Regions from separate parts of the Homo sapiens genome. Here region 2 is linked to region 1. Evidence: promoter capture Hi-C in human tissues and cell types (Jung and others, 2019). All regions are on one chromosome and are shown on one strand. Each heading gives the region's core, a stretch centred on a gene start or on the middle of the fragment in contact. The rest is flanking DNA. Distances are from core to core; before and after follow the strand shown. Region 1 holds the start of ZNF559 (zinc finger protein 559). Region 2 overlaps OLFM2 (olfactomedin 2).

The links. The method cuts DNA at HindIII sites, captures the fragments that hold promoters and counts their contacts. A contact is called where the count stands out against the background at its distance.
Region 2: a contact is called between a fragment that was not itself captured here and the fragment with the promoter of ZNF559 in region 1, in 1 of the 25 tissues and cell types used here (spleen).

The regions. Positions count from the first base shown.
Region 1 is chr19:9,321,811-9,326,207 of GRCh38, forward strand. ZNF559 (zinc finger protein 559) reads left to right here and starts at 2,369. Exons shown (of 7, transcript NM_032497.3): 1 at 2,369-2,418; 2 at 2,885-2,970. ZNF559-ZNF177 (ZNF559-ZNF177 readthrough) reads left to right here and starts at 2,369. Exons shown (of 13, transcript NM_001384659.1): 1 at 2,369-2,418; 2 at 2,885-2,970. RefSeq lists an enhancer at 2,213-2,462 and a silencer at 2,633-2,772. The HindIII fragment of the contact is 8,356 bases long and covers 1-4,397 here.
Region 2 is chr19:9,926,064-9,930,460 of GRCh38, forward strand. All of the region lies in intron 1 of OLFM2 (olfactomedin 2), which reads right to left. Among named protein-coding and RNA genes, the nearest start is that of OLFM2, 8.3 kb to the right of the region's middle. The HindIII fragment of the contact is 7,982 bases long and covers 1-4,397 here.

The DNA of each region.
Region 1 (4,397 bases), core at 1,119-3,618:
CCCCCACCCTCCTCTCCCCCTGCCCTACCCCCCGCTCCTTCCCCCTCCTACCCCCTCCTCCCCCGCCTCCTCCTCCGTGGGCTCCTGTGCAGCCGGAGCCTCCCCGACAAGTGCCGCCCCCTGCTCCACGGCACCCAATCCCGTCGACCACCCAAGGGCTGAGGAGTGCGGGCGCATGGCGCGGGACTGGCAGGCAGCTCCACCTGCAGCCCCAGTGCAAGATCCACTGGGTGAAGCCAGCTGGGCTCCTGAGTCTAGTGGGAACTTGGAGAACCTTTATGTCTAGCTAAAGTATTGTAAATACACCAATTGGCACTCTGTATCTAGCTCAAGGTTTGTAAACACACCAATCAGCACCCTGTGTCTAGCTCAGGGTTTGTGAATGCACCAATCAACACTCTGTATCTAGCTACTCTGGTGGGGACTTGGAGAACCTTTGTGTCGACACTCTGTAGCTAGCTAATCTAGTGGGGATGTGGAGAACCTTTGTGTCTAGCTCAGGGATTGTAAAGGCACCAATCAGCGCCCTGTCAAAACAGACCACTTGACTCTACCAGTCAGCAGGATGTGGGTGGGGCCACATAAGAGAATAAAAGCAGGCTGCCCCAGCCAGCAGTGGTAACCCGCTTTGATCCCCTTCCACGCCGTGGAAGCTTTGTTGTTTCACTCTTTGCAATAACTCTTGCTACTGCTCACTCTTTGGGTCCACACTGCTTTTATGAGCTGTAACACTCACCGCGAAGGTCTGCAGCTTCACTCCTGAAGCCAGCGAGACCACGAGCCCACCGGGAGAAATGAACAACTCCAGACGCGCCGCTTTAAGAGCTCTAACACTCACCGCGAAGGTCTGCAGCTTCACTCCTGAGCCAGCAAGACCACGAACCCACCAGAAGGAAGAAACTCCGAGCACATCCGAACATCAGAAGGAACAAACTCCAGACGTGCCACCTTAAGATCTGTAACACTCACCACGAGGGTCCCCGGCTTCATTCTTGGAGTCGGTGAGACCAAGAACCCACCAATTCCGGACACATTAGTACAGGTCTTTGAATAAATTTTGCTTCTAACAGAAGTTACTATTTATTCCTAATTAGATGGGCAGGAAAGTCTTTGAAGAGGAACCTCTACTTTACTTTTTACTGTAGAGAGAGTAGTCTTTGATCTTGGGGAGATGGGGTTTTTCCTTTTGGTTTAGCTTCAGGAAGTTTGTGTTAATTGGCCTTAGGTGCCCTGCCCCCAGCCCCAGGTGTTTTTCCTTTGATTTAACTTTAGGAAATTATCACGAATTGGCCTTAGATTCCCCGACCCCAGATCTTGGTGTTTTCACTTTTAGGAAGTCCGCATGAATCTTATCTATGCTCTTAACTACGTCCTAATTTTTGTGTTTTTTGTCTTTTTTATAGGAATAGGGTTTTGCCATATTGCCCAGGCTGGTCTCGAACTCCTGAGCTCAAGTGGTCTGCCTGCCTCAGCCTCCCAAAGTGCTGGGATCACTGGCGTGAGCCATCAGGCCCAGCCTCTATGTGCTAATTTTTGAACAAATTCCAATAGGAGCATTCTAGTCTCTGAGTGTGAGATGACCAAAAATCAAGCCCTTGTGAGGCTGAATAGAGTCGGGAGGCAGGGAACTTAAGGCTGTTTCAGGCCGACTTCCTAGAACTAAATTGAAAGGAAAACCCTCACTTTCCTCGCCTAAATAACAAAAGGACCAGAGGCTACTCCCTTTGACCTTTTCTGCTGGCAGATAGGAAATTGGCTGTCTGCAACAAATCAGACTGATGGCCGGTTGAGTCTTCATTTGCATAGAAGTGTAACTTTGTAACGTCGTAACTTCACCCTAGCCTTTGATTGGTTGCTTTTTGCAACCAATCAGATGTTTGCACAGGAGTGTGACCTTTGTAACTTCAGACTCTGGTTGGCTGCTTTCTGCAACCAATCAGACTGAACGCGGGCTACCGCTTCATTTACAGGAGGTGAGCATGAAGTGGCCAATGGGAAAATTCTAGGAGGTATTGGGACTCATGAAGGTTCTGTTTCGGAGCCCTTGAGCTGCCGCTTGGCCAGTTCCCACACTGTGGAGTATGCTTTCGTTTTCAACAAATCCCAGCTCTTGTTCTTTTGTTGCTTCATTCTTTCTTTGCTTTGCTGGGCGTTTTGTCTAATTCTTTGTTCAAAACGCCAGTAACCTGGACAGCTTGCAGTCAAGACCCCCTACCGGTGACACTTGCGCTCTTCGGGGAGGTAAACAGCATTTCCTCTCAGCTCTGGGTTGGAAAAAGCCGCAGCAGCTGATGGGCCCGGGAACCCGAGGCCCCGCCCCCTAGGTGGTCCTAGCCTTTGCGCGTGCGCGGCGTGTCTGCGTGGGCGCATGCGCATAACGGCCGCCATCTTAACAGCGCGTTCCCGTTGGCGTCTGAGGTAAGTTTTTGTTTCTGGGCGGCGTTCGGTGGTGTCCCGGTGCAGCCACGCGAGAGTAGAAGGGTGGAAAGGGGAGGTGCCCAGTGAAATGGAGCCTGTCCCGTGCACTTTCGGGCATTTCGAGCATCTTGTGGGCTCTCCCAAGTCGCGGCCCCTCCTCTGAGAGCCACAGTCAGGTCTGTCCTCAGGGGTCGAGGCGGCTGCGCTGGGGCCTCGGCCCGGGAGGAGGCGGGGGGCACGGCCTTTCCATTTTCCCTGCTCCCCTCTGCAGAAGCCTCATAGGGCCCGGCGCGGCGGCTCACGCCTGTCATTCCCAGCGCTTTGGGCGGATTGGGTAGGAGGATTACTTGAGGCCAGGAGTTCAAGACCAGGCAGGGCAACATAGGGAGACCCCCCCCCCCAACCATCTCTAATGGAAAAAAAAAAAAAAGTCTCCACATCCAGCGTTGTGCCTTTTCTCTATAAGGAACAGCATCTCTGCCTTCCTGTTCACGGTGACCTTCGCTTGGTGTCCTCCTGGCCTCAGCAACCTGACAATTCTGTCGTGTCCCGGTGAGCACTTCATGCACTTGTTCTGGCTGTGGGTGTCGGGTCTTGAAGTTTAAGTTGTGTCGAGGTGGAAAGAAACCTTTTCAGGTGGTTGTTCGAGAGCACATGGATCTGATACCATCGAATGCATGAGTGGATGAATGCACATAACTGTAAAATTTACCACCAAGGAAAAACACAGGACTACTCAACTGTGGTTCCAGGCCATCACCTAGATCTCACTCTAGCGCCCTGTAGATTCCCCCAGAGGTTCAAAACGAGGGCATCCCCAGGAACACGGTGCGGGCTGATTTACTAGCAGGAGGGATTGAATTGATAATGAATGCGAAGATAACTTTTGACAGGTGGGTTTTCTACCAGTTACTCATTTGAAAGTCTTACTGAGGGCGGGGCAAGGTGGCTCACACCTGTAATCCCAGCGTTTTGGGAGGCTGAGGCTGGAGGATCGCTTGAGCCCAGGAATTTGATGCCAACCTGGAAAAAATAGGGCAAGCCTCTGTCTCTACTAAAAATAAAAAATTAGCTGGGCATGGTGGTGTCTGTGGTCCCATCCACTTTGGAGGCCGAGATGCGAGGATCACTTGAGCATGGGAGGTCGAGGCTGCTGTGAGCCATTATTGTGTCACTGCATTCCAGCTTAGGCAACAGAGTGAGACCCTGTTTCAAAAAGAAGAAAAAAAAACAAATACTGATCTAGAGAACATCTGTAGCTCGAGTAAAACAAATGTCTTTAGTCCAGGTGTGGTGGCTCACGCCTGTAATCCCAGCATGTTGGGAGGCTGAGGCTGGCGGATCACGAGGTCAGGAGTTTGAGACCAGCCTGGCCAACATAGTGAAACCCCGTCTTTACTCAAAATACAAAAAATTAGCCGGGCGTGGGCACCTGTAATCCCAGCTACTCAGGAGCCTGAGGCAGGAGAATCGCTTGAACCTGGGAGGCAGAGGTTGCAGTGAGCCAAGATTGCACCCTTGCATTCCAGCCTGGGCAACAGTGCGAGACTCCGTCTCCAAAAAAAAAAAAAAAAGTCTTTAACCCTTAACTACATTCACTAGTTGTTAAGATTTGTTTCATTTTTTTGTATATGTACTTTATCATGAGCCATTTAAATTGGAAGTGAATGAACTTTCCCCTTTTAAGCGTGTATCTCAAATACCTCCTGAAAGTGAAGACAAGCTTAAAACAAGACTTCATTGTCCATCCCCACCCCCAAATCAAATCAGATTTCCCCAGCTGTCCAAAAGTCACCATAGTCACCATTATAGTTGCCAGGTTGTTTGCATGTTTTTAGATCTGTTAAATCTGTTTTTTAACTAGACTATTCACCTGATTTTTTTTTTTTTTTTTTTTTTTTTTGAGACGGAGTCTGTCTGTCCCAGGCTGGAGTGCAGTGGTGTGATCTCAGCTCACTGCAACCTCTGCCTCCTGCGTT
Region 2 (4,397 bases), core at 1,423-3,922, 600 kb after region 1:
GAGATAGAGGTTGCAGCGAGCTGTGATGGTGCCACTGCACTCCAGCCTGAGTGATGGAGAGAGACCTCCTCTGTAACATTAAGACTTTTTTTTAAAAAAAAGCTGAAAACAACCCAGTGTCTATTTATTGATGAATGAATGGATAAACAAAATGTGGTATATCCATACATGGAATATGATTCAGCCTTTAAAAGGATGGAAATTCTAGGCCAGGCATGGTGGCTCACGCCTGTAATTCCAGCACTTTGGAAGGCTGAGGCGGGCGGATCACGAGGTCGGGAGATCGAGACCATCCTGGCTAACATGGTGAAACCCCATCTCTACTAAAAATACAAAAAATTAGCCGGGCGTGGTGGCGGCCGCCTGTAGTCCCAGCTATTCCGGAGGCTGAGATGGGAGAATCGCTTGAATCTGGGAGGCGGAGCTTGCAGTGAGCTGAGATCGCGCCACTGCACTCCAGCCTGGGACAGAGAGCGAGACTCCATCTCAAAAATAAATAAATAAATAAATAAATGACTAAAGTGATAAATTTTATATTATGTGTATTTTACCACAATTAAAAATTTTTAAAGTCTTCCATTTAAACATGCACAACCTCTTCTATGAGTCACTATTACCAGCTCACTAAATTCTAGGCCAAGTGCAGTGGCTCACGCCTGTAATCCCAGCAGTTTGGGAGGCTGAGGCAGGAAGATCTTATGAGCCCAGGAGTTCAAGACCGGCCTGGACAATATAGTGAGACCCTGTCACTACAAAAAATAAACAAAAAAAATTATGTGGGCATGGTGGCACACGCCTGTGGTCCCAGTGACTCAGGTGGCTGAGGTGGGAGGATTGCCTGAGCACAGGAGTTTGAGGCTGCAGTGAGCTGTGATCGCGTCACTGCACTCCAGCCTGGGCAACAGAGCAAGACTCTATCTCTAAAAATAAATAAATAAGGTCCAGCACGGTGGCTGACGCCTGTAATCCCAGCACTTTAGGAGGCCGAGGCAGGCAGATCACGAGGTCAGGAGTTTGAGACCAGCCTGGCCAACATGGTGAAATCCTGTCTCTACTAAAAATACAAAAATTAGCCAGGCGTGGTAGCACGCGCCTGTTAACCCAGTTCCTTGGGAGGCTGAGGTAGGAGAATTGCTTGAACCTGGGAGGGGAGGGTTGCAGTGAGCTGAGATCGCACCACTGCACTCCAGCCTGGGCGACAGAGCGAGGCTCTGTCTCGAAAAAAATATAAATAAATAAATGAATAAATAAATTCTAAAATCCTTAACCCAGCTTTCGAAGCCTTTACAGTCAGATCACAACCTTTTCAAGCTCACTTCCCTTCTCCTATCTGCACCCACCATAGGCATCAACCACACACTTACCCTAGTTCCCATTTCCAGAAACTTCCCCTCTTTTAAACATGGTTAGAATCATGTAAAATAAGGGTAAACCCACCAGGTCTTGTCAGCATGACCAATGACTTTCTTCTGTGTCCACCCTCCAGTCTTCACTCGCTCATCCTTCAAGGCCCATCTCAAATGCCACCTCCCCCAGGAAGCCCACTTGACTCTTGACATCTGGCACTTTGTACCATGTGTCGGCTGCATCTGTCTCCCAAATTTGGCAACTGACAGCCATTCAGAGCGGACTGTGTCACGTCCCTCCTGAGTGAGTGAGTGCCTCTATCAGTGTCTTTCTCATAGAAATTACTAGAGAAATTAGGAACAGAAACAATGTGGGCCGGGTGCAGTGACTCATGCCTGTAATCCCAGCACCTTGGGAGGCTGAGGCGGATCACTTGAGGTCAGGAGTTCGAGACCAGCCTGAACAATATTGTGAAACCCTGTCTCTACTAAAAATACAAAAATTAGCTGGGCCCTGTGGCTCATGCCTGTAATCCCAGCACCTTGGGAGGCTGAGGCAAGAGGATCACTTAAGGCCAAGAGTTCAAGACCAGCCTGGGCAACATAGTGAGACCCCCATCTCTACCAAAAAAAAGAAAAAGAAAGAGAAAAATTAGCTGGATGTAGTGGTACACACCTGTAGTCCTAACTATTTGAGAGGCTAAGGTAGGAGGATCACTTGGGCCAAGGAGGTTGAGGCTACAGTGGGCTGTGGTCACACCACTCCACTCTAGCCTGGTCAACAGAGCAAGACCCTGCGTCTTAAAAAAAAAAAAACAAAATAAAATTTAAAAAGAACCCGGCTCACCATGTGCTCATCATGTATTCTTCCTGGGATTCACCAGGACTCTCTTAGAGCCTAAAAAGTGAGAAGCTATTTGCCATTTCATTTGATGGCTGAACTGGCTTTGCCTTTTTGTTTCTTTCTTCTTGTGCAATGACACCTGTCTTCTCATCTATTAAGCAAGGCTAGTTACTAGCTGCCCAGGATTGTTGGAACTATGTGTAAAGTAAGAGTAAACTGGGACCGAGAGTCTACTGGGTCCCCAGGAGCAACAAGAACAACCTTTTCCAGGCTGGATGCAGTGGCTCATGCCTGTAATCCCAGCACTGAGGGAGGCCAAGGTGGGTGGATCACTTGAGGCCAGGAGTTCAAGACCAGCCTGGGCAACATGGCAAAACCCCGTCTCTATTAAAAATACAAAAACTAGCCAGGCATGGTGGTGCACGCCTGTAGTCCCAGCTACTTGGGTGGCTGAGGCATGAGAATTGCTTGAACCCAGGAGGCAGAGGTTGCAGTGAGATGAGATCGTGCCACTGCACTCCAGACTGGGCGACAGAGTGAGACTCTGTCTAAAAAAAAAAAAAAGAGAGAAAGAGAATAAGCTTTTGTATACAGTCTTCATGGAATCTACTCTCCCTACTCTCTGCTCTTTCCTGGTGACTTCTTGGTTTGTGGCTGCACTCTGGATGGATGAAGTTGCAAGACACACTGAGGTGGTGTGCACCTGTAATCCCAACTACTTGGGAGGCTGAGGCAGGAGAATTGCTTAAGCCCAGGAGTTCGAGGCCTGCCTGGGCACCATGGCAAGACCCCATCTCAAAAAGAAAAAAAGAGATAGAATGGGCTTCCACCTTGGCAGGGAGGACATGTCAATGTTCTCAGACAAGAGTTCCCTAGATATGGGAATAAAATGTTCCTGTCATGACAAGTTTTTTCCCAACACAGCCAGACTCAACTCCTCCAGAAGTTAAATCTACTCCACCCCTTGAAAGCACAAACTACCACCCAGTGCTTGTTGCATAGTACAACGCTTGAGATACAGAAGGCTCTCAATGAATGCTCTCTAAATGAATACATGGGCCGGGCGCGGTGGCTCACACCTGTAATCCCAGCACTTTGGGAGGCTGAGGCGGGTGGATCACCTGAGGTCAGGAGTTTGAGACCAGCCTGAACAACAATATAGAGAAACCCTGTCTCTACTAAAAATGTAAACATTAGGTGGGTGTGGTGGTGTGTGCCTGTAGTCCCAGCTACTTGGGAGGCTGAGGCGGGAGAAGAGCTTGAACTCGGGAGGTGGAGGTTGCAGTGAGCCGAGATTGCACCACTTCACGCCAGCCTGGGCGACAGAGTGAGACCCCGTCTCAAAATAAAATAAAATAAAATAAAATAAAATAAATGAATACATGCATGTAGGAACAAATGAAAACAGCACATTACTGTCTCTCAGGCACTAACACTGAATCCTGGGGCTACAAAGTCATTGCCCACACCAGCCACTGGGCTCATCAGAAACCCACACATACCAGGCCAGGCGTGGTGGCTCACGCCTGTAATCCCAGCATTTTGGGAGGCTGAGGCAGGCAGATCACCTGAGGTCAGGAGTTCGAGACCAACCTGACCAACATGGAGAACCCTCGTCTCTACTAAAAATACAAAATTAGCTGGATGTGGTGGTGCATGCCCGTAATCCCAGCTACTCGGGAGGTTGAGGCAGGAGAATCACTTGAACCCAGGAGGCAGAGGTTGCGGTGAGCCGAGATCGCGCCACTGACCTCCAGCCTGGGCAACAAGAGCGAAACTCCATCTCAAAAAAAAAAAGAAAGAAAGAAAGAAATCCACACATACCATATGGTTGGCCTACATGGATACAGTCACTGGTGTGATGATGATACAAGCATGTCCCTGTGCTCATGGTCCCTGAACATGCACACAGTCACCAAACATACACATACACGCATGACACCACAGACACATGCCTATGGGGCCAAAGTTAGAGTGAGGCAAGTTATGCAAGTGCAGAGGGGGAGCCCATATTTATTTAAAAATTTGTTTTTATTCATTATAGATTTTTCTTGCATCAATTTAGATTTTTCTTAAAATGTTCCATTAAAATATTATTTATCTTGGTTACTGGTTTTTATTTTTTTGGGGGGCATACCCTTAAATTTTGTACTATAGCTGAACTCTGTACCATGTACCTGTCACCCTAGCTACTCAGGAGGCTGAGG